Regions from separate parts of the Homo sapiens genome. Here all the other regions are linked to region 1. Evidence: promoter capture Hi-C in 16 types of primary human blood cells and fetal thymus (Javierre and others, 2016). All regions are on one chromosome and are shown on one strand. Each heading gives the region's core, a stretch centred on a gene start or on the middle of the fragment in contact. The rest is flanking DNA. Distances are from core to core; before and after follow the strand shown.

Region 1 (6,128 bases), core at 1,668-4,167:
CTGGGATTACAGGCGTGAGCCACCATGCCCGGCCTGCCTTTAATTCTTCAAACTTATGGAAGGGTTATTGTTTCAAGAATACTTACTGGCTGAAATGGCCATAAGTGCCTGAATGGGTCGCCAGGCCATCATACACACCATCATAGTAGGGAAGATGGAGATAGTATTGCCTGCCATGTACATGATGAAGAGATTCATGGGAATCTGTTTGAGGGGACCCAAGGCGATGTCCCAGCAGCGCTAAAACAAAACACACAATTTTAACCCTCTGATCACTACCCTTAGTCCCACATTTGCCATATCACTGATGCTAAATCACATGAACGGAATTCCCAACTCCCTGCTTCTAACTGAGCTGACTCCTCAATTCTACGACCTCTTCCCTTCTCCACGTTGCCACAGGAAGGCTCTCCTACTCAAGATAAAGTATCCTTACCATCTGTTATGCCTTTCCCTATAGGTTTTCCAGATGTCATTTTTTTCTCCTGATTTTGGAAAAAAGATCTCCCTGCTTTTGTCCTGGTACTTATGTATCTATCAATGTCCTATCTACAACTGAAGAAATAGATAAATCCACATAATGGGAGATTAGCACACCTCAGTCAATAACTAATAGAACCATCGAACTAATTTAGTTCCAGAAATAATAGAATTAGCAGGCAAATCAAGACATAGAAGATTTGAATGACATTAACAAACTTAACCCAACTGACATGTAACACTGCACTCAACAATTGCAGAATTCACATTCTTTTCAAACAAGATATTCACAAAAACTGACCACTCGCTGAGCCATGAAGAAAATGTCAATCTCAAAGAATGCAAATTGTACAAAACATATTCTTTGACTACAATGATATTAAACTAGAAATAATTTTATAGTAACTAGAAAATCTCTTATGTTTGGGAATTAACAATGATACATGAAGAAATTATAATGGAAAATAGATTTATATGATAGCAAAAGTACCACATTTTAAAACTCGTGGGACACAGCTAGAGTTCTGAGAAATTTATAACCTTAAATACATACTACCAGGTTGCTGCAAAAGTAACTGCGGTTGTTGCCATTAAAAGTAATGGCAATGTGGCCGGGCGCGGTGCCTCACACCTGTAATCCCAGCACTTTGGGAGGCCGAGCTTGGTGGATCACCTGAGGTCAGGAGTTTCAGACCAGCCTGGCCAACGTGGTGAAACCCCGTCTCTACTAAAAATACAAAAAAATTAGCTGGACGTGGTGGTGGGTGCCTATAATCCCAGCTACTCGGGAGGCTGAGGCAGGAGAATTGCTTGACCCTGGGAGGCAGAGGTTGCAGTGAGCCAAGGTCGTGCTATTGCATTCCAGCCTCGGCGACAACAGCAAGACTGTCTCAAAAGAAAAGAAAAAAAGTAATGGCAGTCTAAAAATAAACTAAGCATCCATTTCAAGAAACTAGAAAAAAACCCAAGTATTTTTGAAAAGATTAATAAAATCAATACTGGTGATGGGTACAGTGACCTGTAAAAATAAATGAAAATAATTTTTAAAAAATCAATACTGGTGAGCCTGATGAAGAAAGGAGAGGAGACAAAATATTCAATATCAGGAATGAAAAAATGAACATCACAGATCTTGCATATATGGAAGTGATCATATTATGAACAACTTTATATCAATACATTTGAAATTTTAGGAAATGGATAAGTTTCTAGAAAAAATGTAACAAAATGACAGGAGAAATTAGAAATATAAATAGCCCCGGGCCGAGCGCGGTGGCTCATGCCTGCAATCCCAGCACTTTGGAAGGCCAAGGCGGATGGATCACCTGAGGTCAGGAGTTCAAGACCAGCCTGGCAAACATGGTGATACCCTGTCTGTACTAAAAATACAAAAATTAGCCGGGCTACTGCAGAAATCTAGATGAAGGATGGTGGCTTGGATTAGGATGAGAGGTGAACACAGGAAAAAGTAGTAGGTAAAGCCAACAGAGTATCCTGACAGTTGGATATGTGGTGTAAGGGAACCAGAGTAGAAAAAGGATCACTTCAACTGGAAGATGTTGCCACCAAAAGATAGTTTTCAACCTACTTTCTTATACCTTATGTTCCAAACATCTTCTATTTTTCAAATTATTAAGCACTTTTGTAGCTGATATATAAAATACCGAAATACCAGCCTCAAGCAGTTTAGTTTCCAAATCTTCAGGATAAGAGCTATCTACGTTAACTCCACCTAGGAGAAGAGGATGAGTGTGTAACTCAGGACTGGCCCATGGGCTACGGTAACATCTATACCTCTGTACCTTCTCCACCAGGATCCGGTCTGTCTCTTGCACGCTGGTATCAGGCACTTGCTTGTCCAAGTAACCGACTGGGTAGAGCGAGTCTCCCTGGCCACTGCCCCGGTCACTTCGACCCCTAAAAAACCAAACCAAGAAACTAAAGCTGCAACCTCCGATACTTCTTATCCCACATTTCCTGATCTACCAATCATAGGAATAAAGATCTTCAGATGCACCTACTCAGATTAGACCAAGCCCCCTCGTATGTTCCTCAGTCCTTTGACTTATCAGGAGGACTGATGTAAGCATTGTTTGAGCAGAGAAACTTCCACGGCAGAAAAGCCGCTACCTCCCCAGGTGATGTCTGTGTGCCACCCATCTTTTTCAGAGTTATGCCTGAGGGCTCAGGTCTCATTACTCTGGTGCAGTTCTGGGATGAACAGTGATGTACAGCTTGCCCAGGTGCCTCACCTGCTGCCTCCTCCAGGCCCGCTTAGCTCAATGGCCCACTTGAAGCGCCGGCCTCGGTTAGCCACCAGGCCCCCCTGGGCCGTCATGGCAACAGCTGCGTCCTATAGCCTCGATGCTTCTCAGTCCAAAGCGTACTCCACAACAGGCCCACCAGCGTTCTCCGCTTTGTCTCACTCTGCAAATGCACTTCCGGCGCGTGAATACGACGTCATTTCCGCCCTGGAAATTGGTGGTGCTGTGGGTTGAGGAGTCCGGGTTTGGATTTAGAAAAGCAGGGAGGAAAAAAAACCAGGCAAGACTTAGTGCTTCCTAAAGCCACTTCCGCGCGCTCCCCTTTTGAATGTCCTTGTTATGTGTTCCCTGACCTCTGAGGTGCACTTTATGGGGCTGAAGGAAAGCCCATACTGACTCAGCGTTAAGAATTGGTGGGCGGATCACCTGAAGTCAGGAGTTCGAGACCAGCCTGGCTAACATGGTGAAACCCCGTCTCTACTAAAAATACAAAATATTAGCCGGGCTTAGTGGCGGGCGCCTGTAATCCCAGCTACTTAGGAGGCTGAGGCAGGAGAATCGCTTGGATCCGGGAGCCGGAGGTTGCAGTGAACTGAGACCGAGCGATTGCACGCCAGCCTGGGCAGCAAGAGCGAAACTCTGTCTCAAAAAAAAAAAAAAGGAAGCCAAGAAAAGCTTCTTAACCTCCTACGCGCTCCCTGGAACAAAAGATTCAAATCCTGGGTTTAAATCCTAGCTTGACCTTGAGCGAGTTACTTAGTAGTTTCTGAGTATTGAATGTCCACTGTGTCATGTGTTTATTTCATTTCACTTGCACAGTAACCTTGCGAGGTAAACAGTTCTAACCACATTCTGCACAAAGGCAAGGCAGCATTGTGGGCATGGAAGGGGACATGGGCTCGGTATTCAGTTAGCCTGCGTTTGTTGTTGTTTGTTTTGGGTTTGTTTTTTGAGACAGGGTTTCACTCCGTTGCCGAGGCTGTAGTGCAGTGGCGCTATCACGGCTCACTGCAGCCTCGACTTCCCCGGCTCAAGCGATCTTCCCACCTGAGCGTTCCTTCCAACCTGAGCGTTCCGAGGAGCTAGGACCACAGGGCGCGCCACCACGCCCCAGTCTTGTTTTGTTTTGTTTTGTTTTGTTTTGACAGGGTTTCGCTATGTTGCTCAGGCTGCTCTCAAACTCTTGGGTTCAAGTGATTCTCCTGCCTTGGCCTCCCAAAATGTTGAGATTACAAAGGCATGGGCCACTGCACCCAGCAGATGGCCTCCTTTTGAATCCTGGTTTCACCACTTAATAATTGTATGACCTTGGGCAAGTTGAATTTGTTTCAGCCTCTTCATGTAAAAGTTGGATAATCTACCTACTTTCAAGGCTTGTGAGATTAGTGCCCACCACATATCTGGTGTTTGGTTTGTTTGTGTTTTTGTTCGAGACGGAGTTTTGCTTTTGTTGCCCAGGCTGGAGTGCAATGGCACTATCTCGGCTCACTGCAACCTCCGTCTCCCGGGTTCAAGCAATTCTCCTGCCTCAGCCTCCCGAGTACCAGGGATTACAGGCGCACGCCACCACGTCCAGCTAATTTTGTATTTTTAGTAGAGATGGGATTTCACCGTGTTGGTCAGGCTGGTTTCGAACTCCCGACCTCAGGTGATCTGCCTGCCTCGGCCTCCCAAAGTGCTAGGTTATGTGGTGTTTTTAATGATGTATCACATCATTACCAAATAACACCATTGATGTGTTTTTAATGACGTGTCATTAAATAATGTATGTCATTCTTTAAAGTGATTGGGTTTTGTATGGTATACCTTTTTCATAATATAGCCTATTATTGGACATTTAAATTGTTTCCTGTTTTCCTTCCTTTTATAACCAGTGTTGCTGTGAACATATCTGTATGTCTTTTCTTATTTCCTAAAGTTATAGTCCTAGAAGTGAAATTGGAGTTGCTGGATCAAAGAGTATGCACATTTTTAAAGAATTTTCATTTTAAATGCCCACAGGAGCCAGGCGTGGTGGCTCACACCTGTCATCCCAGAACTTTGGGAGGCTGAGGCAGGAGGATTGCTTTAGCTCAGAAGTTCAAGACCAGCCTAGGCAACATAGTGAGACCTTGCCTCTGCAAACAACAACAAAAAAAATTAAAATGTCCACTAGGAAAAATGGCACCATTTACATTTCACAGTCTATAATTTTTTTAATAGTTTGAAATGGTACTGTATTATTTTTTAATTTGTATTTCTTTGACTCCAAGTTATTCGATATGGCTGGAGTTAGGGGGAAGGAGATGCTGTGGGAGGTAAGGTTGAAAAAGGCTTCCTTGGCCAACAAAAAAGTTGGGACTCTTGAAGATGATGATGATGTAAGAGAGGCTGAAGATTGCCACCTCCACTTTATTTTCTGATTTTAAAAATATGTGTTCATAGCAGACTACTTAAACAAGGCAGAAATGGAAGTCTTTTGCCTCTCCAATCCATCCTAAAATGTGTATCTATCTGATTGTAGGAAGACCTAACTATAGATTGTGTTTCTGCTCCTTTCTACTTTTTGTCTTTACCACGTTCTGTCTCATGAACCTTATATTTATCTCAAGCTTCTGACCCTATTGGGCATTCTTCTTTGTTGCATTATATGCTGCATAATAGCACTTACCACATTGCATTTTGTTTGTTAAAGTCCCCTGAGCACTTATTTCTACCCCTCTATAGGCAACCCTAAATCCCCCCAGGTCAGAAGCTATATATTATCTTTGAGCCTGTTGCCTAGAACATAGAAAGTACTGAATAAATGTTTAGCGAATGTGAGTAAATTAAATTGAAAGTAAACAAACACCAAGATGTGAATGTACTATAACTACACTTGTGCAAAATAAAACATAAAAATGGATATACATTCTATTGGGGCAATAATTTTCACGCAATTTTGTCTAATTTTCAAGATAATCTTATTACACTTTTCTTTTTTTTTTTTGAGACAGAGTCTCACTCTGTCACCGAGGCTGAAGTGCAGTGGCACGATCTTGGCTCACTGCATCCTCTGCCTCCCAGGTTCAAGCAATTTTCCTGTCTCAGCCTCCTGAGTAGCTGGGATTACAGGTGCCCGCCACCACGCCCTGTTCATTTTTGTATTTTTAGTAGAAATGGGGTTTCACTGTGTTGGCCAGGCTAGTCTCAAACTCCTGACCTCAGGTGATCCACCCACCTCGCCCACGCAAAGTGATGATTACAGGCATAAGCCACTACACCTGGCCTTCTTATTACATTTTAATACTTTTTTTTTTTTTTTTTTTTTTGAGATGGAGTCTTGCTCTGTTGCCAGGCTGGAGTGCAATGGCGCAATCTCGGCTCACTGCAACCTCCGCCTCCCAGGTTCAAGCAATTCTTCTG
Region 2 (6,128 bases), core at 2,334-4,833, 720 kb before region 1:
GCTGGAGTGTAGTGGCGCAATCTCAGCTCACTGCATCTTCTTCCCGGGTTCAAGTGATTCTCCTGCCTCAGCCCCCTGAGTAGCTGGGATTACAGGCGTGTGCCACCATACCCAGCTAATTTTTGTATTTTTAGTAGAGATGGGGTTTCACCATATCACAACTCCTGACCTCAAGTCAGGAGTTGACCTCCACCCGTCTCGGCCTCCCAAAGTGCTGGGATTACAGGCATGAGCTACCACACCCAGCCAAGGATTCCAAGTTATAAATAGAGATTTCCAAAATATTTTCAGAAAGTTGTAAATAATTATGCTTTTCTGGGTGAGTTATGTATTACAGTGAGTGGTGGTAACTAATGAAGTATTCTATGCTTTTTACTCTTTACAGCCAGTATCTTGAAAATTATCTCTGGATGAATTATTCTCCTGAGGTATCTAGCAAGGCCTATTTAATGTCAATCTGCTGTATGGTGAATGAGAAGTTTAGAGAAAACGTGCCTGCATGGGAGGTAACTGATTTAAAGTACTTCATAGCTTTCATACTGACCCACATAAGCCATTACAAAGTGGCAGAACTTTTACTGATAGTGGTGCTTTTAGAGCAGAACTTTACCCAGTAATAAAGCAAATATTGAGAAAAAGAATGGGTATGTGAAAGATATGTTTTCTTTTGGTTTCAATACTTTCTTCAAACGATTTAATAATTTACTATGAATTGAAAATTTATGAATGTGAGTTATTTTTCTGCTTTGTGTTTGAAACAAAGAATGGTATATGTTATAACAACTTACATCAGGAGCTGGCAAAATGGAAATTATATTAATAAGTACAAATAGGCTGAGTGCTGTCACTCATGCCTATAATCCTGCACTTGGAAAGCTGAGGTGGGAGGATTGCTCGAAGCCAGGAGTTCAAGACCAGCCTGGGCAACAAAGCAAAAACTTGTTTCTTTAAAAAAAGAAAAAATTAGCCAGGCATGGTGGCATGAGTCTGTAGTCCCAGCTACTTGGGAGATTGATGCAAGAGGACCACTTGAGCCCAGGAGTTCGAGGCTGCAATGAACTATGATTGCACCACAACACTCCAGCCTGGGTAACAGAGCGAGGCCTGTCTCTAAGAAGAAGAAAAAAAAGCACAAGTATATAATGTTCAAATGAGATATTTTTCAGTGTCTTTTTTCACAAGAGGGAGTTTATTTTTATTTTTTTTGTCTTATTTTTATTTTTATTTATTTTATTATTATTATTATTATTATTATTTTTTTTATTGATCATTCTTGGGTGTTTCTCGCAGAGGGGGATTTGGCAGGGTCACAGGACAATAGTGGAGGGAAGGTCAGCAGATAAACAAGTGAACAAAGGTCTCTGGTTTTCCTAGGCAGAGGACCCTGTGGCCTTCCGCAGTGTTTGTGTCCCTGGGTACTTGAGATTAGGGAGTGGTGATGACTCTTAACGAGCATGCTGCCTTCAAGCATCTGTTTAACAAAGCACATCTTGCACCGCCCTTAATCCATTCAACCCTGAGTGGATACAGCACATGTTTCACAGAGCACAGGGTTGGGGGTAAGGTCACCGATCAACAGGATCCCAAGGCAGAAGAATTTTTCTTAGTACAGAACAAAATGAAAAGTCTCCCATGTCTACCTCTTTCTACACAGACACGGCAACCATCCGATTTCTCAATCTTTTCCCCACCTTTCCCCTCTTTCTATTCTACAAAACCGCCATTGTCATCATGGCCCGTTCTCAATGAGCTGTTGGGCACACCTCCCAGACGGGGTGGTGGCCGGGCAGAGGGGCTCCTCACTTCCCAGTAGGCGCGGCCGGGCAGAGGCGCCCCTCACCTCCCGGATGGGGCGGCTGGCCGGACGGGGGGCTGACCCCCCCCACCTCCCTCCCGGACGGGGCGGCTGGCTGGGCAGAGGGGCTCCTCACTTCCCAGTAGGGGCGGCCGGGCAGAGACGCCCCTCACTTCCCGGACGGGGCAGCTGGCCGGGCGGGGGGCTGACCCCCCCACCTCCCTCCCTCCCGGACGGGGCGGCTGGCCGGGTGGGGGGCTGACCCCCCCACCTCCCTCCCGGACGGGCGGCTGGCCGGGCAGAGGGGCTCCTCACTTTCCAGTAGGGGCGGCCAGGCAGAGGCGCCCCTCACCTCCCGGATGGGGCGGCTGGCCGGGCTGGGGGCTGACCCCCCCCACCTCCCTCCCGGACGGGGCGGCTGGCCAGGCGGGGGGCTGACCCCCTCACCTCCCTCCCGGACGGGGCGGCTGGCCGGGCGGGGGGCTGACCCCCCCACCTCCCTCCTGGACGGGGCGGCTGGCCGGGCGGGGGGCTGACCCCCCCCACCTCCCTCCCGGACGGGGCGGCTGGCCGGGCGGGGGGCTGACCCCCCCGACCTCAAGAGGGAGTTTATATTTGTAGTTTTACATGAATAAAAAAAGTTACCAAAGTCAAGACAGATGCTTACATTATAATTTCAATGTTCTTTTGGTTTTTTGTTTTGAGACTGAATTTAGCTCTTGTTATCCAGGCTGGAGTGCAAATGGCGTGATCTCAGCTCACTGCAACATCTGCCTCCCAGGTTCCAGCAATTCTCCTGCCTCTGCCTCCCAAGAAGCTGGGATTACAGGTGCCCGCCACCATGCCCAGCTAATTGTTGTATTTTTAGTAGAGATGGGGTTTCACCATATTGGCCAGGCTGGTCTCAAACTCCTGACCTTAGATGATCCACCCGCCTCGGCCTCCCAAAGTGCTGGGATTACAGGCATGAGTCACTGTGCCTGGCCTGTTCTTTTTGTCCTTGATTTGGGATCTATTTTTCCTTTTAGAAATTTCTAATGCACTGATGTTTCCTTTTTGTGCTGGTGCAACAGAAGCTTGATCAGTAGGGATCCAAAATCTTTGTTTTCTTTGCCCGCCATATAATGGTCACTTCATCAAGAGTTTCTTCTCTTCCAGTCAGACTTTTTTAAATGAAAAAAAGGAATGGATGCCTGTCATCTGTTTTGAGTAAATGGTCACCAAAGTGAAAAGGTGATAGAGTCTTTAAGATAAAACCATGGACACTTATCTCAAATATTCATTAAATGACTACCATCTCAGGGCACATTAGAGCTCAGAATAAACTATGGGTTTTATGTCACTATCAAGAGAGCCTAGGGGTTTCTTCAAGTTGCTTCAAGCTATTATAGAAATACAGAAAGGAAGAAGGAAAATTTTTTGAGCCAGGGAATAACCTGGTCAGTTTACCTGTTATAAAGATCACTTTGGTGATTAGGCCTTGAAATAGAGAAATGATAATACAGATTTAGAGGATATACAGAGATGTAGAAGGTAGAATTGATTGAATTTGATAATCAGTTGAAGTAGCATTAGGAAAGGGTGTTATTTTCAATAACCTTCCAGGCTTGGGCAAATGAATATAATATATGATGGTGCCATTTACCAAGATAGGTAATAGAGAGTGAGGAATAATTTGGAGGATACAAAACTGTTGAATTGAATTTGGACATATTCAGTTTAAATTGCCTTTGGAATATCTAGATTAAGTCATCTAGTAGAGGAATCTAAGGTTTGAGAGCTCAGAAGAGAAATCTGGACTGCAGATGTATATTTGGAATCATTGGTATTTAGTGGTTGAAGTAATAGAGGGAGAAGAATGAGGCTAGAACCCTACGAATATTGCGGTTTAGATAACAGGCAAAAGAAGAAGAGCCTTCAATATGGTGAAAAGGAGTTGAGAGTTAATAAGGGTCCATAGGACTTGACAGCCATACAGCTTCAGGAGAGCTTGTCTTAGAGAAGTGAATGAAAACAACTAGTATAGACCACACGCTTGGAGCATTTGTCTGTGGCAGTAACTAGAAACAGAGGTAGGTCAAAGAGGCTTGAATATATTTACATTATTTACAAGTTAAGAGTAAAGAGCTAATATAAAGCAGGAGGGGCTGTTCTTGAGATTAATTACAGTGTGAAAACTACAATTTTTGCTAAAGATGTAGTTTCTTTTGTTTAAATCAGAGAAATTAAAACACTTCAGATCCTTAATAAGAAAACAAAGCCTAAGCTAAATACAGGCATAATCCACAGAGGAAAAACTAAAGAAATGAAAGCCATTATTTTATTAGCTAAAGGGTTCTGCAGCTCTCTCATAGTCCTGTCAGAAACCTGTATTTGACTTGCCATTAATTATAAGTAAGCACGTGATGCTTCTTTTATACATATACAAATAACCCTTTTGTAATTATTTGGTTTTTTTAATAGACTGCTAAAAAGCCTACTAGGGCTTCTTTAAAGCTTAAGTGAGCAAGCCAATACAAAATGAATTTTATTCTGTTTCTTTTCAGATTTTTAAGAAGAAGCCAGACCACTTCCCATTCTTTTTTAAACACATCTTGAAGGCGGCATTAGCTGAAACTGATGGTGAATTTTCACTTCATGAACAGACAGTCTTACTACTTTTTCTTGATCATTGCTTCAATAGTTTGGTACTTTTACTTTATATTTTGGGGTAATTTTCAAGTTTTCTTGTTCTTTTAGGTTGAGTTTAGATGAAATTACCTCTGTAGCCAACTCCATTCATCCATAATAGCAGGCAATAAGGATAATGCTAAAAGCTTGATTTCAGCCACTTATCAGTAAAACCATTTTATAAGTCTTTAAGATATGTTTTTATAAGATATGTTCACTTTTTAATAGATTTGAAATTGATACTTAATTTTTTCTATCTAGACTCTTAAGAAAAATGATTATAAGAACTGAAACTCTAAAGGGAGAGCACAAAAATGAGAAGCAGCAAGGAGACTGGTTATATGGAATTGGAGTAATGAGATCTGTGCCACAAACTGCATATACATACAGGAATGTAGTTTCATTGCTTTTCATCATGCCTTATGCATAGGCTGGTTAGTCAACAGGAGAGTTGTATTTTGAGTTGACTGATAAAGGCCAAGTGTAAATGATCTTTGAAAATGTCTTGTGTGTGATACATTTTCATCCTTCATAAGATTATCTTCTAAAAAATTAAATATTTTCAGTAATATTTTATTTGAGCTTTCCTGTGTGGTTAGCTGATAAATACACATATTTATTTAGTGCCTCTGAATTGATAATTCACTTACACCCATGCAGGAGGAATGCATGGAGTTCTTTCTTATTCTGAAGACTGAGTGTTAATAGATGGATGATTATTACCTGTTTCCATGTACTATCTCACATGGATCTTTTAAAGGCATAAAAAAAGATTTATGATGCCTGCACTGGATACCACTGTTATCTCTTTAACATTTATTTTTATTTATTTATTTATTTATTTATTTATTTATTTATTTTGAACATAAACTCAAGATTTTATTGTCTTCATAATAAAAGATGACACTTAGAACTGAATCACTTGGCCCTTTCTCTTCTTATCTCCTCCCAGTTCAAAATGCTTGCATCTTTTAATAGCCAGCATTCTCTTAGATCTGCAGTTGGGCTCAATGCACTCAAGCCTTAGCACAATCTTTGTAGTTTTAGCCTTTTTCCAGAAAATTGGCTTAGTTTGCCCACCATAGCCACTCTGCTTCCTGTCATAACGCCGCTTTCCCTGGGCATACAGAGAATCCTTGCCCTTCTTGTACTGTGTCACTTTATGGGGTTGGTGCTTGCCACACTTCTTACAGAAAGTCCGGCGGGTTTTAGGGACGTTAACCATGCTTGCGTGAGCGTTATCGGCACAGAAAGCCTCTTTAACATTTATTAAACTAAACAGAACAAATAGAAATATAAATAGATGTGATTTTTTTATCAGAAACTAAACAGAAACAAGATTTTATTAGTATTAGTAATTTGGTGATAGTTTTAGCCAACTTACCAAACTAGTTTATTATTGAAATGCTTTATCTTTTAAAATATGCAGTCAGTTCTTATTTGAGGTAGTTATGTTCATTTTATAAAGTAGCTATGAACATTGAATGAGCTAATGCTGAACCATTACTCCTTGGGGAAATACAGGGTTAGGTTCCTGCAAGCCTTGGTCATGACATTTTACAAACTATCAATACATAGCCTTATTTTATGTGTGTTTCTATTTAAAGACAGCTTATTTATTGTATATTATTGATTCATTAACCATGAACTCACTGCCAACAGC
Region 3 (6,128 bases), core at 2,362-4,861, 690 kb before region 1:
GTAACTGATATTAGGGAAAGTGAAACCACAGATAAGGGGGGACTCCTATAATAATAAAACAATTTACAGGTGACAAAAGATTTGAACAGACACTTGACCAAAGTAGGTAGATAGATGTCAATAAGCCCATGGAAAGATGCTTAACATGTTTAGTCATTGGGGAAATGCAAATTTAAACCATAAGAAGATACTACATACCTATTAGAATTTGTTTTTTTTTTAATGGATAAGGCCAGGCACAATGGTTCACGTCTGTGATTCCAGCACTTTGGGAGGCTGAGGTGGAAGGATGACTTGTCTACTAAAAATCAAAACAATTAGCCAGGCGTGGTGGCACATGCTTGTAATCCCAGCTACTCAGGAGGCTGAGATAGGAGGATTGCTTGAGCCCAGGAGATCGAGGCCGCAGTGAGCTATATCTTGCCACTGTACTTCAGCCTGGATGACAGAGTAAGACCCTGTCTCAACAAAACCAAAAAAACAAAAAACAACCCCAAAACGGATAATATTGACTCTTGGCAAGGATGTGGAGCAATTGGAATTCTCATAATTGCTGGTGGGAATTCAAAGTGGGATAGCCACTTTGGAAAAATTTGAGTTTCTTATAAAGGTAAACATGAACTTAACATTATGATCCAGTATTTTCCACTTACAGATATATTCAAGAAAAGTGAAAACTTATGTTCACACAAAAATATGTACAAAAATGAATATAGTTGCTTTATTCAAAATCGTCAAAAACTGGACTACACAAATATCCCACAACTGTTGAATGAATAAACATACTGTGATACAGCCGTATCATGAAATACTGCTCAGCAACGTAAAGGAACCAACTACAGATAAATATACAGTGTGGGTGAATCTCAAATGCTCAAATGCATTATGCTAAGTAAAAGCAGCCATTCAAAAGGCTACCTACCTAAGACCAGGCATGGTGGCTCACACCTGTAATCCCAGCACTTTGGGAGGCCAAGGCAGGCAGATCACTTGAGCTTAGGAGTTTGAGACCAGCCTGGGCAACATGGTGAAACCTCGTCTCTACCAAAAATACAAAAATTTAGCCGAGTGTGGTGGTGGGCACCTGTGGTTCCACCTATTCGGGAGGCTGAGGTGGGAGGATTGCTTAAGCCCGGGAGGTGGAGGTAACAGTGAGCTGAGATCATGCCACTGCACTCCAGTCTGGGCAACAGAGTGAGACTCGTCTCAAAAAACAAGCAAGAAAAAAGACTACCTAATGTGTGATTCCATTTATTTGACCTCCTGGAAAAGATAAAATTACAAATAGAAAACTGATTATGGTTGCTGGGCTGGGATGGAGAGGAGGATTTGCTATAAATTAGCATAAGGGATTTTGGGGAGGTGATGAAACCAGTTAAATAGTGGAAAGCTATGAAGCTCATGGTGGCAAATACCAGTTTTCCAAAATTCTAATTTTTCACGTTCACATGGAAGTTCAAATTTTATCATTGACAGCAAATACTGATAGTTGTTTTCCTTGAAATTATAGTCTTATTTCATTCAAAATTTGAAATTTGAAAAAAAATTGGCCATTTGTCCAAGGCTGGTATAAACAGTTTGTCATTTTTTTTTTTTTTTTTTTTGAGATGGAGTCTCGCTCTTTTGCCCAGGCTGGAGTGCAGTGGTGCAATCTCGGCTCACTGCAACCTCTGCCTCCTGGGTTTAAGCGATTCTCCTGCCTCAGCCTCCTGAGTAGCTGGGACTACAGGCGCTCACCACCACGCCTGGCTAATTTTCGTATTTTTAGTAGAGACGGGGTTTCACCATATTGTCCAGGCTGATCTCAAACTCCTGACCTTGTGATCCGCCCACCTCGGCCTCAAAGTACTGGGATTACAGGTGTGAGACACTGCACCCGGTCCAACAGTTTGTTGTTTTTTAAAGTAAAAGTTGTGTGCAAAATATGTACTTCCCATTTTGTCACAGAATTTAAAATAAAACAGGTACTCGAGTCCAAATTTAATAGTATTAATTTTTTTTTACTGCTTCATCAAGGACATTCTTAAATAAAACTGTGAAACAATGTCTTAGTATTGTTATTATTATTGTTATTATTTTTGAGACGGAGTCTCGCTTTGTCGCCCAGGCTGGAGTACAGTGGCGCGATCTCGGCTCACTGCAAGCTCCGCCTCCCGGGTTCACGCCATTTTCCTGCCTCAGCCTCCCGAGTAGCTGGGACTACAGGCGCCCGCCACCACGCCCGGCTAATTTTTTGTATTTTTAGTAGAGACGGAATTTCACCATGTTAGCCAGCATAGTCTCGATCTCCTGACCCCGGGATCTGCCTGCCTCGGCCTCCCAAAGTGCTGAGATTACAGGCCTGAGCCACCTTGCCCTGCCGGTATTAATATTTAAAAGTGTTCTTGGGGACTGCCCAGAAGGATCTTGGGTACAATGAGAGGTTTGCAGAAAATATTTTGAGAACCCTGCACTAAAGCCTTAATTTTCATTGCTGGTTTTTGATATTTGCTGCCCATGTCATAGTATTATATTTGCTTTTTTAAGCTATTTGTAAAAATACATGTTTCAAAAGTGAAGTGAAGTAAGTTACTATGAATAAAATATTGTTCTCTATTCTGCAGTTCAAACACACTCCACCAGGTGGCATCATACCTCTGCTTGTTGCCAACTCTTCCTAAAAATGAAGACACAACTTTTGATAAAGAATTTCTTCTAGAATTGCTGGTAAATATTAATGTTCTCTGAATTTTGCATGTGGTTTTCCTTGCCTTTTAAAGTCATTCTTAAAGATGTAGGTTCATATAGATTTTTTTGTGGGCCAAAGATTAGGCAGATAATTCCCATTTTGTTTTTGGAATTGTATTATCATTTGATTTTTTGTTTTCTCATCTTTCGAATTTCTTTACTCAAGTATTTTATCTCTTCGAACTACTTTCTGGATGAATCATTCTATTAGCAACTATTTATATGCAAATCACTTTCATTGTCTCTTTCAGTTCCTAAAAATTCCTGTGCTATTTTCTGACAATGTAAAACCTCTCATGAGTAAGGTTTTTGGAATTAATAATAACTCTTTGCAATAGAAAGAAATGAGGATTTTTTTCAGGAATTCTTCTTCTTTTTTTGTTTTTTTGTTTGTTTGTTTGTTTTGTTTTTTTGATACCGAGTCTCTCTCTGTCGCCCAGGCTGGAGTGCAGTGGCGTGATCTCAGCTCACTGCAACCTCTGCCTCCCAGGTTCAAGTGATTCTCGTGCCTCATCTTCCCGAGTAGCTGGTATTACAGATGTGTGCCACCACTCCCAGCTAATTTTTGTATTTTGAGTAGAAGATAGAGTTTCGCCACGTTGGCCAGGCTGGTCTTGAACTCCTGGCCTCAAGTGATTGACCCACCTCAGCCTCCCAAAGTGTTGGGTTACAGGCATGAATCACCGTGCCCAACCTGTTTTCAGGAATTCTTCTAATGGAAAATAAGTTTGAGGATAACGTTGATCCTGTGCCTATTAAGGTCTTGTGGCTAGAATTTTATTCCTAAAATTTAAATAGTTCCAACAAAAGAAAATAATTTTTAAAATGTATAGTGCTACAACATTATGTTTTGTTTCCTCCCTTCCCTAAAGGATTTCCCCAGGCTTTGGATTCTTCTACTATTCAATTTATGATCAAAAAGTTAAAACATACATATTGTTTAGATATCATGATTTTTTCTATAATTATACTATCTTCACTGAAGAGAATGTGATACATTTTAAGAATATGTCATTTTAGCATTATTAGATAAACACTTATTTTTCTTTTTCTTTCTTTTTTTTTTTTTTTTGAGATGGAGTCTCACTCTGTCCCCCAGGCTGGAGTGCAATGGTGCAATCTCGGTTCACTGCAACTTCCGCCTCCCGGGTTCAAGCAATTCTCTTGCCTCAGCCTCCTGAGTAGCTGGGATTACAGGTGTGCACCACCACGCCCAGCTAATTTTTGTATTTTTAGTAGAGATGGGGTTTCACCATGTTGGTCAGGCTAGTCTTGAACTCCTCACCTCAGGTGATCCACCTGCTTCAGCCTCCCAAAGTGCTGGGATTAAAGGCATGAGCCACTGCACCCGGTGTAACACTTATTTTCATATTTGAGATAGATTATTAATATTAAGGGTACACAGAGGTCATCATGGAAAGGAACATAGAGTGAGAAGACTAGGGTGATAGATTAATAAACTTTCCCAGATGGTATAGCTAGTTAGTATAAGAATGAAAACTATAGTCCAAAACCTAGAGCTCCTATTTTTTCCTACATTGATTAATGCTAAGTGTCATGGTTTTTAAACCCTTGGCATGTGCCAGGGACTTTGACACTATTTCATATTTCATTGGAAACTTGAGATGTGTGGCACTTTATCTGTTTTAGTGAAAAGGAAACTAAGGTTAGGAAGGTTAAAGTAACGTGCCCAGCTTTTACAGTACTCATAAGTAGAGGAGCTGGGATTTGAACTCAGGTCTGTCTGATTCCAAAGACCATTACCATTGGTTTGTTTCTCATCTTTGATCTATGGAGAAAATAGGAAAAGAAAAAAAAATCGCTTGTTGAACTGCTACAATAACTGATAGGCATGAAACTTCTTCCATAAATTATTTTGATTGAAAAAAGATGCTTCTAACCTTCTGCATGAACTTGTTTCCTTTATTTTAGGTATCTCGTCATGAACGTCGAATTTCTCAGATTCAGCAGTTGAACCAGATGCCTTTGTATCCAACTGAGAAAATTATATGGGATGAAAATATTGTCCCAACTGAGTACTATTCTGGAGAAGGTATGGTAAAGAAGTATGGATTCAGCTGTACAATGAAACAATTTCAGATTTATCATATATAATTGGCAATTATAGGCAGTGTACTTGAGTCTACTCTGTACATTAGGATAATTTCCTGGTGCCCAGAAGTTAACTTTAGAAGCTAGAAAAGATTTAGTATTTTGAATGCTTTAGCACTAAGGGTTTTTATTAAATTTAACTATACACATATCACCCTGTAAAAAATACGACCATAAAGCCCTAAGACTGTTTTGGTTTTTTTTGTTTGTTAGTGTGAGACAGGGTCTTGCTCTGTCACCCAGGCTGGAGCGCAGTGGTGCAGTCTCAGCTCACTGCAGCCTCAGTCTCTGGGCTCAAGTGATCCTCCCACTTCAGCCTCCCGAGTACCTGGGACCACAGGCGTGCACCACCACACCCAGCTTTTTTTTTTTTTTTTTAGTAGAGACAAGGTCTCGCCATGTTGCTCAGGCTGATCTCGAACTCCTGAGCTCAAGCGATCTGCCCACCTCAGCCTCCCAAAGTGCTGGGATTATAGGTGTGAACCACTGCAGCTGACCATAAGACTGTTTTCAAGGAGACCTTATAATGCATGAAGTATAGCTTTCATTTTGTCACTATGATAGGCTGTGTTTGATAGAGCTTTTGTTTTTCAAAGGCTTTTCTTAGGGGCTCTTTTGAATTCTATGTAAAGCAGGTAATGATCACCAAAAAAAAGACATTATCATTTATTGATAGTAAACCCTTAGTGTTGATCCAAAATGGTATTGCCTAGTTTGTTCACTTATTTCCCCAGATTTGGATCTAAACACTTTTCACGCATCCTCTGAGGATGAGAATTTGCCACAACTGAGTATATGCAAAAGTGCATTCAGATATACTTTGAAGGTATATTTCAAAAGAAATTTCAGGACTTTTTTGAACAATGGCATCATTAGTAGAAGAAATGTGACTGTTTTAAAGACATCACAAGTATAAGTATTGGTATATTTACTTAAAATGGTTAATCTAAGACATATCCTAGAGCCATAACTCCGATAGACCCAGTGCACTAATATTGTGCTAGATTTCAGAACATAGGCAGTCTTCATATCTTTTTATGTTCTTACAGTGGTTAATATGTTGCTTTCTCATGTCTAGGGATGCACACCTGGATGATAAAACTATAAAGAAATTCAAGATAGCGATTGCTATAAAAGTCAGAAAATAGTTACTTTCGGGTAAAGGGAAGAAGCTGTAACCAGGAAAGGGCACATAGGAGTATTCTGGGATAGCTGACAAGGTGGTTACAAGGTTTCATTAAAAAAATGTCTTTTACTTTACTGGTACCTTCTATACATCCCTTTTTTTC
Region 4 (6,128 bases), core at 2,013-4,512, 630 kb before region 1:
GCCTTTTTATTTACTTATTTTTGAAGAAATGCTGCTGTGGAGAAATAGGAAAATGGTGGAGAGAGATCATGGGGTGGTAGGGTCACATAAAGCCTCAAGTGTCAGGCTCAAGTCTAGACACAATCCTATTATATCCGAGTTTCTTGATCTTTTGTGGGCTAGTAAACAGGCACATTCCTGACAAGAGGTCTGGGACAGAGCCTAGGTGTCATCATGTGTAACAAGCTCCCCACGTGCTTTCTATGTAAGGGCTACATGTCACACCTGAAGAAATCTGGAGTGCAGGTCAGACAATATCACTGAACAGAAGGCTTGGAAACCCATGCTTTAGATAACACTCATGAGTTCAAGGCCCTGGGGAGGTTAGGGCTGAGAACATCTCCCCATCTTCTCCTCAAGAGATAGTGAGGGGCGGAGAGTGCTGTGTCTCAAGGAAAGGCAGCTCTTGGCAAGACTCCAGAAAATAAGCTAACAAGCAAAAACTCTTCCATGTTCCTAGTCATAATAGCATGGCCGTATTTGTACATACGAGTTCTGACCATTGCAGAAAATGACCATTAATCAAAAGAATACCTGCTTAGATGGAATGCTGCCATCCTGCTTACTTCTGAGAAATGTTGTTTAATTTACTAAATTATTTCTAACTTCATGCTCTTTAAATAACTTTTCACTTTGAGATTGAATCCTCCTTTTTTGGGGTATGTTTTTTACCTTAATGATTTTCTAAATTGTTCCTATCATAAGAAAGGATAAGACTTTATAAGCATTTTATTAATAACTATAAATAGGAAAGTTGTTAATCTCTATTTTAGGGTGGTTTAAAAAGAAGTGCAAATTCTGTATTTTCTTGATTTGCTTTACTACCTTACCTACACTTATAGAGCAGTGTTTCTTAGATTGTTGTCAGAAGCTACAGAAGAATCAGCTCATTCCACCCAGACCTTCTGAATCTGAATCTATAGGGCTGGAGCCTAGGTACCTGCAATTTAACAGTCTACCCCAGATGATTCTGATAGACACCAAAATCTTAAAAAGAGCATTTGAATATTCACCCTCTTGACTCATAGTATATGTGTTAAATAAAAGTAAATGTTAGCCTCTTACTTTTTAGAAAAATATAAGTAGGACAAAGAGTGTTAATATTTTCTTTCTGAATTATCTTAAGAACTGTCTTTGGAGCATACACAGTCTTAGAAACTGCTGTTTCAGACTGTGTTGACTTTTCTCTCTAGTCAAATAATTACTTATCTTGTACTAATTCTTTTATATTAGATAGTAAACTAAAACCCATACTTAACTTACCAGCCCAAAATTATATTAAAAGCTGGCAACTCTTAGCTCTTCTAGTCTCTAACCTTTCTAAATTTCAATGGAATCACTATTCTTCATGAAGTCTTTTTTTTTTTTTAATGGGAGTCACGTGGCCAGCAGGCAGAGCGTGCTGACCTGGGCCCCCTTTTTATTAATTCTATTTAAGTCTTTTTTTAACATTCATGAAGTCTTCATTGGACTCTTCACACTTGCATTTTATGTCCTCTTACTGTTAGGTCTTCCAGACCCTAATTGTGCTTATTCATAAGATTAAGAAATGGGTTTATGTTGAAGTGTTACCTTCTAGGGTTGTTTTACTAGATACTTAACGTTCTTTTTTCCTTCTTCTAGAATGGAGAGAGACCATCTCATGAAGTACAAATAATAAAAAATATGCCCCAGATGGCAAACTTTGTATACAACATGTACATGCATTTGATACAGACTACACATCATTATCATCAGGTGAGTTTCTCAAAATCGACTTTTATTTTTCTTGCTGTAGAAATAATTTTCTTTTTTTCAGAATAAATCTTTAAAGTACCTAATTCCTTGTGGGAAATCAGCTAAACTAAAGCAGGCTATTATTATTTATGTAACATTCGTATTTTTAAAACTTCTTTATATAGTTAGAATTCCACATACAATAAAGTCCACAAACTTAAAGTGTAAAATTTTATATGTTCTGGCATAGGTATTTACCTGTGAAGCCATCAGCACAGTCAAGATAAAGAGCATATCCATTATCCCAAGAGTTTTCCCTTGTGCCCATTTGTAATCCCTCCTTGCCCTTCACCAGTCCCCTTTTTACCTTCCCAGGCAGCCAAGGATCTGCTTTCTGTCATGATAGGTTTGCTTCTATTTTCTAGATTTTTATATAAATGGAAGCATACAGTATGTATTCTTATTTTTTCTGGCTACTATTGCTTATACAAGTCTTTGTACTTTATCTTGGGTAGATACCTAAGAGTGGAATGGCTGAATTTATGTTAAGGATGTGTTTAACTTTTTAAGAAGCTACCAACCTGTTTTTCAAAGTGGTTGAACCACTTTACACTCTCAGCAGCAGTGTGAGAGTTCTAGTTGCTACACATCCTCACCCTCACTTGATATGGTACGTCTTTTTAAAATTTTGGCAGTTCTAATAGATATACAGTGGTCTCAGTATGGTTTTGGTTTTCATTTCCCTAAGGACTGATGATGAGCATCTTTTCATGTGGTCATTTGCCATCTGTATATCTTTGGGGATGTGTCTGCTCAGGTTTCCTGCTCATTTTTTTATTAGGCTGTATATTTTATTAAGTTTTGAGAGGTTTTTATTTATTCTGGCTACAAGTCCTTTATCTGATATGTATTTTACAAATATTTTCTCCCATTCTGGCTTGTTTATTTATTTTGTAAGTGTCTTTCAAAGAGCAAAAGTTTTAAATTTTGATGAAGTTCAATGTATCAAAGTGTTCTTTTATGATTCATGCTTTTTATGTCCTAAAAATACATAGCCTAACTCAGAGGTATAAAGGTTTTTTCTAGAAGTTGCAGAGTTTTAGGTTGGATACTTAGGTATGATGCATTTTGAGTTAATTTTTATATGATACAGGTAGGACTGAGTTTTATTCATTTGTCTGTGGATATGCAGTTGTTTGAGCACCACTTCCCTAATAGGCGATTTTTTTCTTTGTTGACTTGCTTGTCATCTTAGTCAAAATATCAATTGACTATATATGTGAGAGTCTGGGCTTTCTATTCTGTTCCATTATTCTGTATATCCGTCCCTTTGCCATGACTGTACTACCTTGATTATAGTAGCTTTACAGTCAGTCTGGAAATTAGATAACATAAGTCCTTTAGCTTTGTTCTTCATTTTAGAAATTGTCTTAGCTATCCCAGTTCCTTTGCTTTTCTGTATACATTTTACAATCAGCAGGTCAGTTTCTACCCCCAAAAGCATGCTGCAGTTTTTAAAAGGATATTTTGAAGAGGAGGATTGTTTAGGATCTATTTGGGGAGATTAACATCTTCACATATTAAGTCTTCCTATCCATGAATAAGATCTCTCGTTTATTTAGATCTTCTTTAAATTCTCATCAGGATTTTGTAGTTTTCAACATACAAACCTTACACATATTTTGTTAACATTTTGCTAAGTATTTTTCTTTTTCGTTTTCTTTTTTTTTTTTTTTTTTTTTGCTGCTGTCGTGCACGGTACTTTTTAAAAATCTTAAAGGCCAGGCGCGGTGGCTTATGCCTGTAATCCTAGCACTTTGGGAGGCTGAGGTAGGTGGATCACCTGCGGTCAGGAGTTCGAGACCAGCCTGGCCAACATGGTGAAACCCCGTCTCTACTAAAAATACAAAAATTAGCCAGGCATGGTGGTACATGTCTGTAATCCCAGCTACTTGGGAGGCTGAGGCAGGAGAATCGCTTGAACCTGGGAGACGGAGGTTGCAGTGAGCCAAGATGGCACCACTGCACTCCAGCTTGGGCGACAGAGTGGGACTCTGTCTCAGTCAATCAATCAATCGATCAATCAATTCATTCATTCAATTTCCAGCATTGTAAGCAGAGTCCCTGATGAGAAAGTCACTAGACTGCCATGGGGCAAAGGGCAAGCTAAGCATATAGAGTTGCTCCAGTTTTCTGGTTGAACGGAACAGAAACCTTGTTCCTTGCTGCTCCCTTCTCCCATGGCTTTGCCTTAAGGCCAGGCTCCTCTCTGCCTCTCACAGGGCTCTTTTTCTTTTCTTTTTCTTTTTCTTGAGACAGAATCTCTCTCTGTCACCCAGGCTGGAGTGCAGTGACACAATCTCAACTCACTGCAACCTCCAACTCACAGGGTCAAGTGATTCTCCTGCCTCAGCATCCTGAGTAGATGGGATTACAGGCTCCTGCCACCACGCTCAGCTAATTTTTGTGTTTTTTAGTAGAGATGGGGTTTCACCATGTTGGCCAGGCTAGTCTCGAACTCCTGGCCTCAAGTGATCCGCCTGCCTTGGCCTCCCAAAGTGCCGGGAATGCCACCATGAGCCACCGCACCCAGCTCACAGGGCTCTTTGATTAAAGTTGACCCTTTCTTGAGTTAGTTTTATAATCAGTCCTGATCAGTCACTGTTTTTTGCAGAAATGTTGACAGCAAAGTATGTTGCTTAAAAATCTAATAGCTTTTCATGGTTGTTTTCCTCTCTGAAGATTTTATATGTATTTTGATTATCAGTATATGACATCTGTGTAGGCATATTCCTTGGTGTTAGCAGAACCTAGACCATTGTCATCAGAGGTGTTACATCTGGAGTATAAAATGGTCAGCACTGTTTTGGAGAACTCTAGAATGGTAATGTGAGAGCTTAGCTTTATAAGCTGTTTTTCATATTGGTATTGTCTTTGTTTTTTTTTTTTTAATTAGACTTTATTACAACTACCACCTGCTATGGTAGAAGAGGGTGAGGAAGTTCAAAATCAAGAAACAGAATTGGAAACAGAAGAAGAGGCCATGACTGTTCAAGCTGACATCATACCCAGTCCAACAGACACCAGCTGCCGTCAAGAAACTCCAGCCTTTCAAACTGACACCACCCCCAGTGAGACAGGAGCCACTTCCACTCCAGAAGCCATCCCTGCTTTATCTGAGACCACCCCTACTGTGGTAGGAGCTGTATCTGCACCGGCAGAAGCTAACACACCTCAGGATGCCACATCTGCCCCGGAAGAGACCAAGTAGCCAAACTGTAGTCCTTCTAAAGGAGGACATGGCAGTCAAAAAGTCTGAGTAAAGCTGTTTTTTGTATTTTATATTTGCTTCTGCCATTTTACTGTCACTAATTAATGTTTAGTTCTTATATTTGTTAACTGATTTCGGTGTCTTGAATATATTTTTTTAAATTATGTGTATGAACAATTCTAGTTTCATTTGTTCAATCAGAAGAGCAAATAACCATTCCTTTCATGTTTTGATCACTGAGTGTGTCTGTAATCATACCTACATTAAAATCATTTTCTATGAATATATAATATATACTTCACATTTTTAGTGAACTTCTCTAAAGAAGAGGACAGAATATACTGGACTTAACCACGAATACCCTTGAGTGTCCAAATTGGGAAGGAACTTGTTTCTTCTGTTATACTATCAAATGCTTAAATTCTGTTTCCTTTTTTCTTACCTTTGTTTGCTGTCTTTATGTAAAGATATTATTAGCAGTAAGATACAGGTTTCTTCAATCTATCAAAGTGGTTACATGCATTTCCTTCTCTCAAATCTTAGAATGCCTTAGAATCACCTAAGATGTCTGTTTATTCTTGAGGCACACCTCAGACTGAATGAGTCAGAATCTCAGGATTAGAGCCTAGGAATCTATATTTTAGGAGGTTCTCCACACCACTAATGTTTGGGTTGCTGGCAGAGTGGCATCAGCCAAGGCTGGTTAGGCTGAGCCAGGATTTGTCATCAGCTAAATAGGAGGACTCTGCCAAATCAATCTGGGCAAGAAGCAGGATCCTGAGTCTGGGCAATGAGAGTCAGAGAACTTAACTCCTGTGTGCAGGGTAGAATTTTCCCATGGCAGAAATTCTGAGTTTTCTGCCTTATTTTTCTTGGGATAACCAGCCACAAGGAGACCTTCAGGTAAAATGTGGTTCAAATATGGGAAGGCAGAGGTACCTGGGACCTTGCTACTCAAGTATGATTTGTGAACCAACAGCATCAACATCGTATTGAAGTTTGTTATTTATAGAAATGCAGAAGTTTGGGCTCTGCTCCAAACCTATTAAATCTAAATCTACATTGCAACAAAGTCCCCAGGTGATTCACAGGCACTTTGTAG

What was found. Contacts are between HindIII fragments. The CHiCAGO score rates a contact against its expected background, and 5 or more counts as called.
Region 2: a contact is called between a fragment that was not itself captured here and the fragment with the promoter of EMC4 in region 1, in 2 of 17 cell types (neutrophils and M0 macrophages). The highest score is 7.4, in neutrophils.
Region 3: a fragment that was not itself captured here is called in contact with the fragment with the promoter of EMC4 in region 1 in 2 of 17 cell types (neutrophils and monocytes); the score reaches 8.3 in neutrophils.
Region 4: a contact is called between a fragment that was not itself captured here and the fragment with the promoter of EMC4 in region 1, in 1 of 17 cell types (M2 macrophages). The highest score is 5.4, in M2 macrophages.

The regions. Positions count from the first base shown.
Region 1 is chr15:34,221,805-34,227,932 of GRCh38, reverse strand. It overlaps EMC4 (ER membrane protein complex subunit 4), which reads right to left and starts at 2,917. Exons shown (of 5, transcript NM_016454.4): 1 at 2,733-2,917; 2 at 2,283-2,397; 3 at 87-240. The coding sequence starts at 2,818. RefSeq lists an enhancer at 2,554-2,603. The HindIII fragment of the contact is 12,421 bases long and covers 1-3,421 here.
Region 2 is chr15:34,942,642-34,948,769 of GRCh38, reverse strand. AQR (aquarius intron-binding spliceosomal factor) reads left to right here. Exons shown (of 35, transcript NM_014691.3): 5 at 386-506; 6 at 4,342-4,482. It also overlaps the pseudogene RPL36AP8. Among named protein-coding and RNA genes, the nearest start is that of AQR, 24 kb to the left of the region's middle. The HindIII fragment of the contact is 1,420 bases long and covers 2,874-4,293 here.
Region 3 is chr15:34,916,910-34,923,037 of GRCh38, reverse strand. It overlaps AQR (aquarius intron-binding spliceosomal factor), which reads left to right. Exons shown (of 35, transcript NM_014691.3): 14 at 2,604-2,706; 15 at 4,660-4,780. Among named protein-coding and RNA genes, the nearest start is that of AQR, 50 kb to the left of the region's middle. The HindIII fragment of the contact is 9,536 bases long and covers 1-6,128 here.
Region 4 is chr15:34,855,690-34,861,817 of GRCh38, reverse strand. It overlaps AQR (aquarius intron-binding spliceosomal factor), which reads left to right. Exons shown (of 35, transcript NM_014691.3): 34 at 1,663-1,776; 35 at 4,712-6,128. The coding sequence ends at 5,026. Among named protein-coding and RNA genes, the nearest start is that of ACTC1, 63 kb to the right of the region's middle. The HindIII fragment of the contact is 7,297 bases long and covers 1-6,128 here.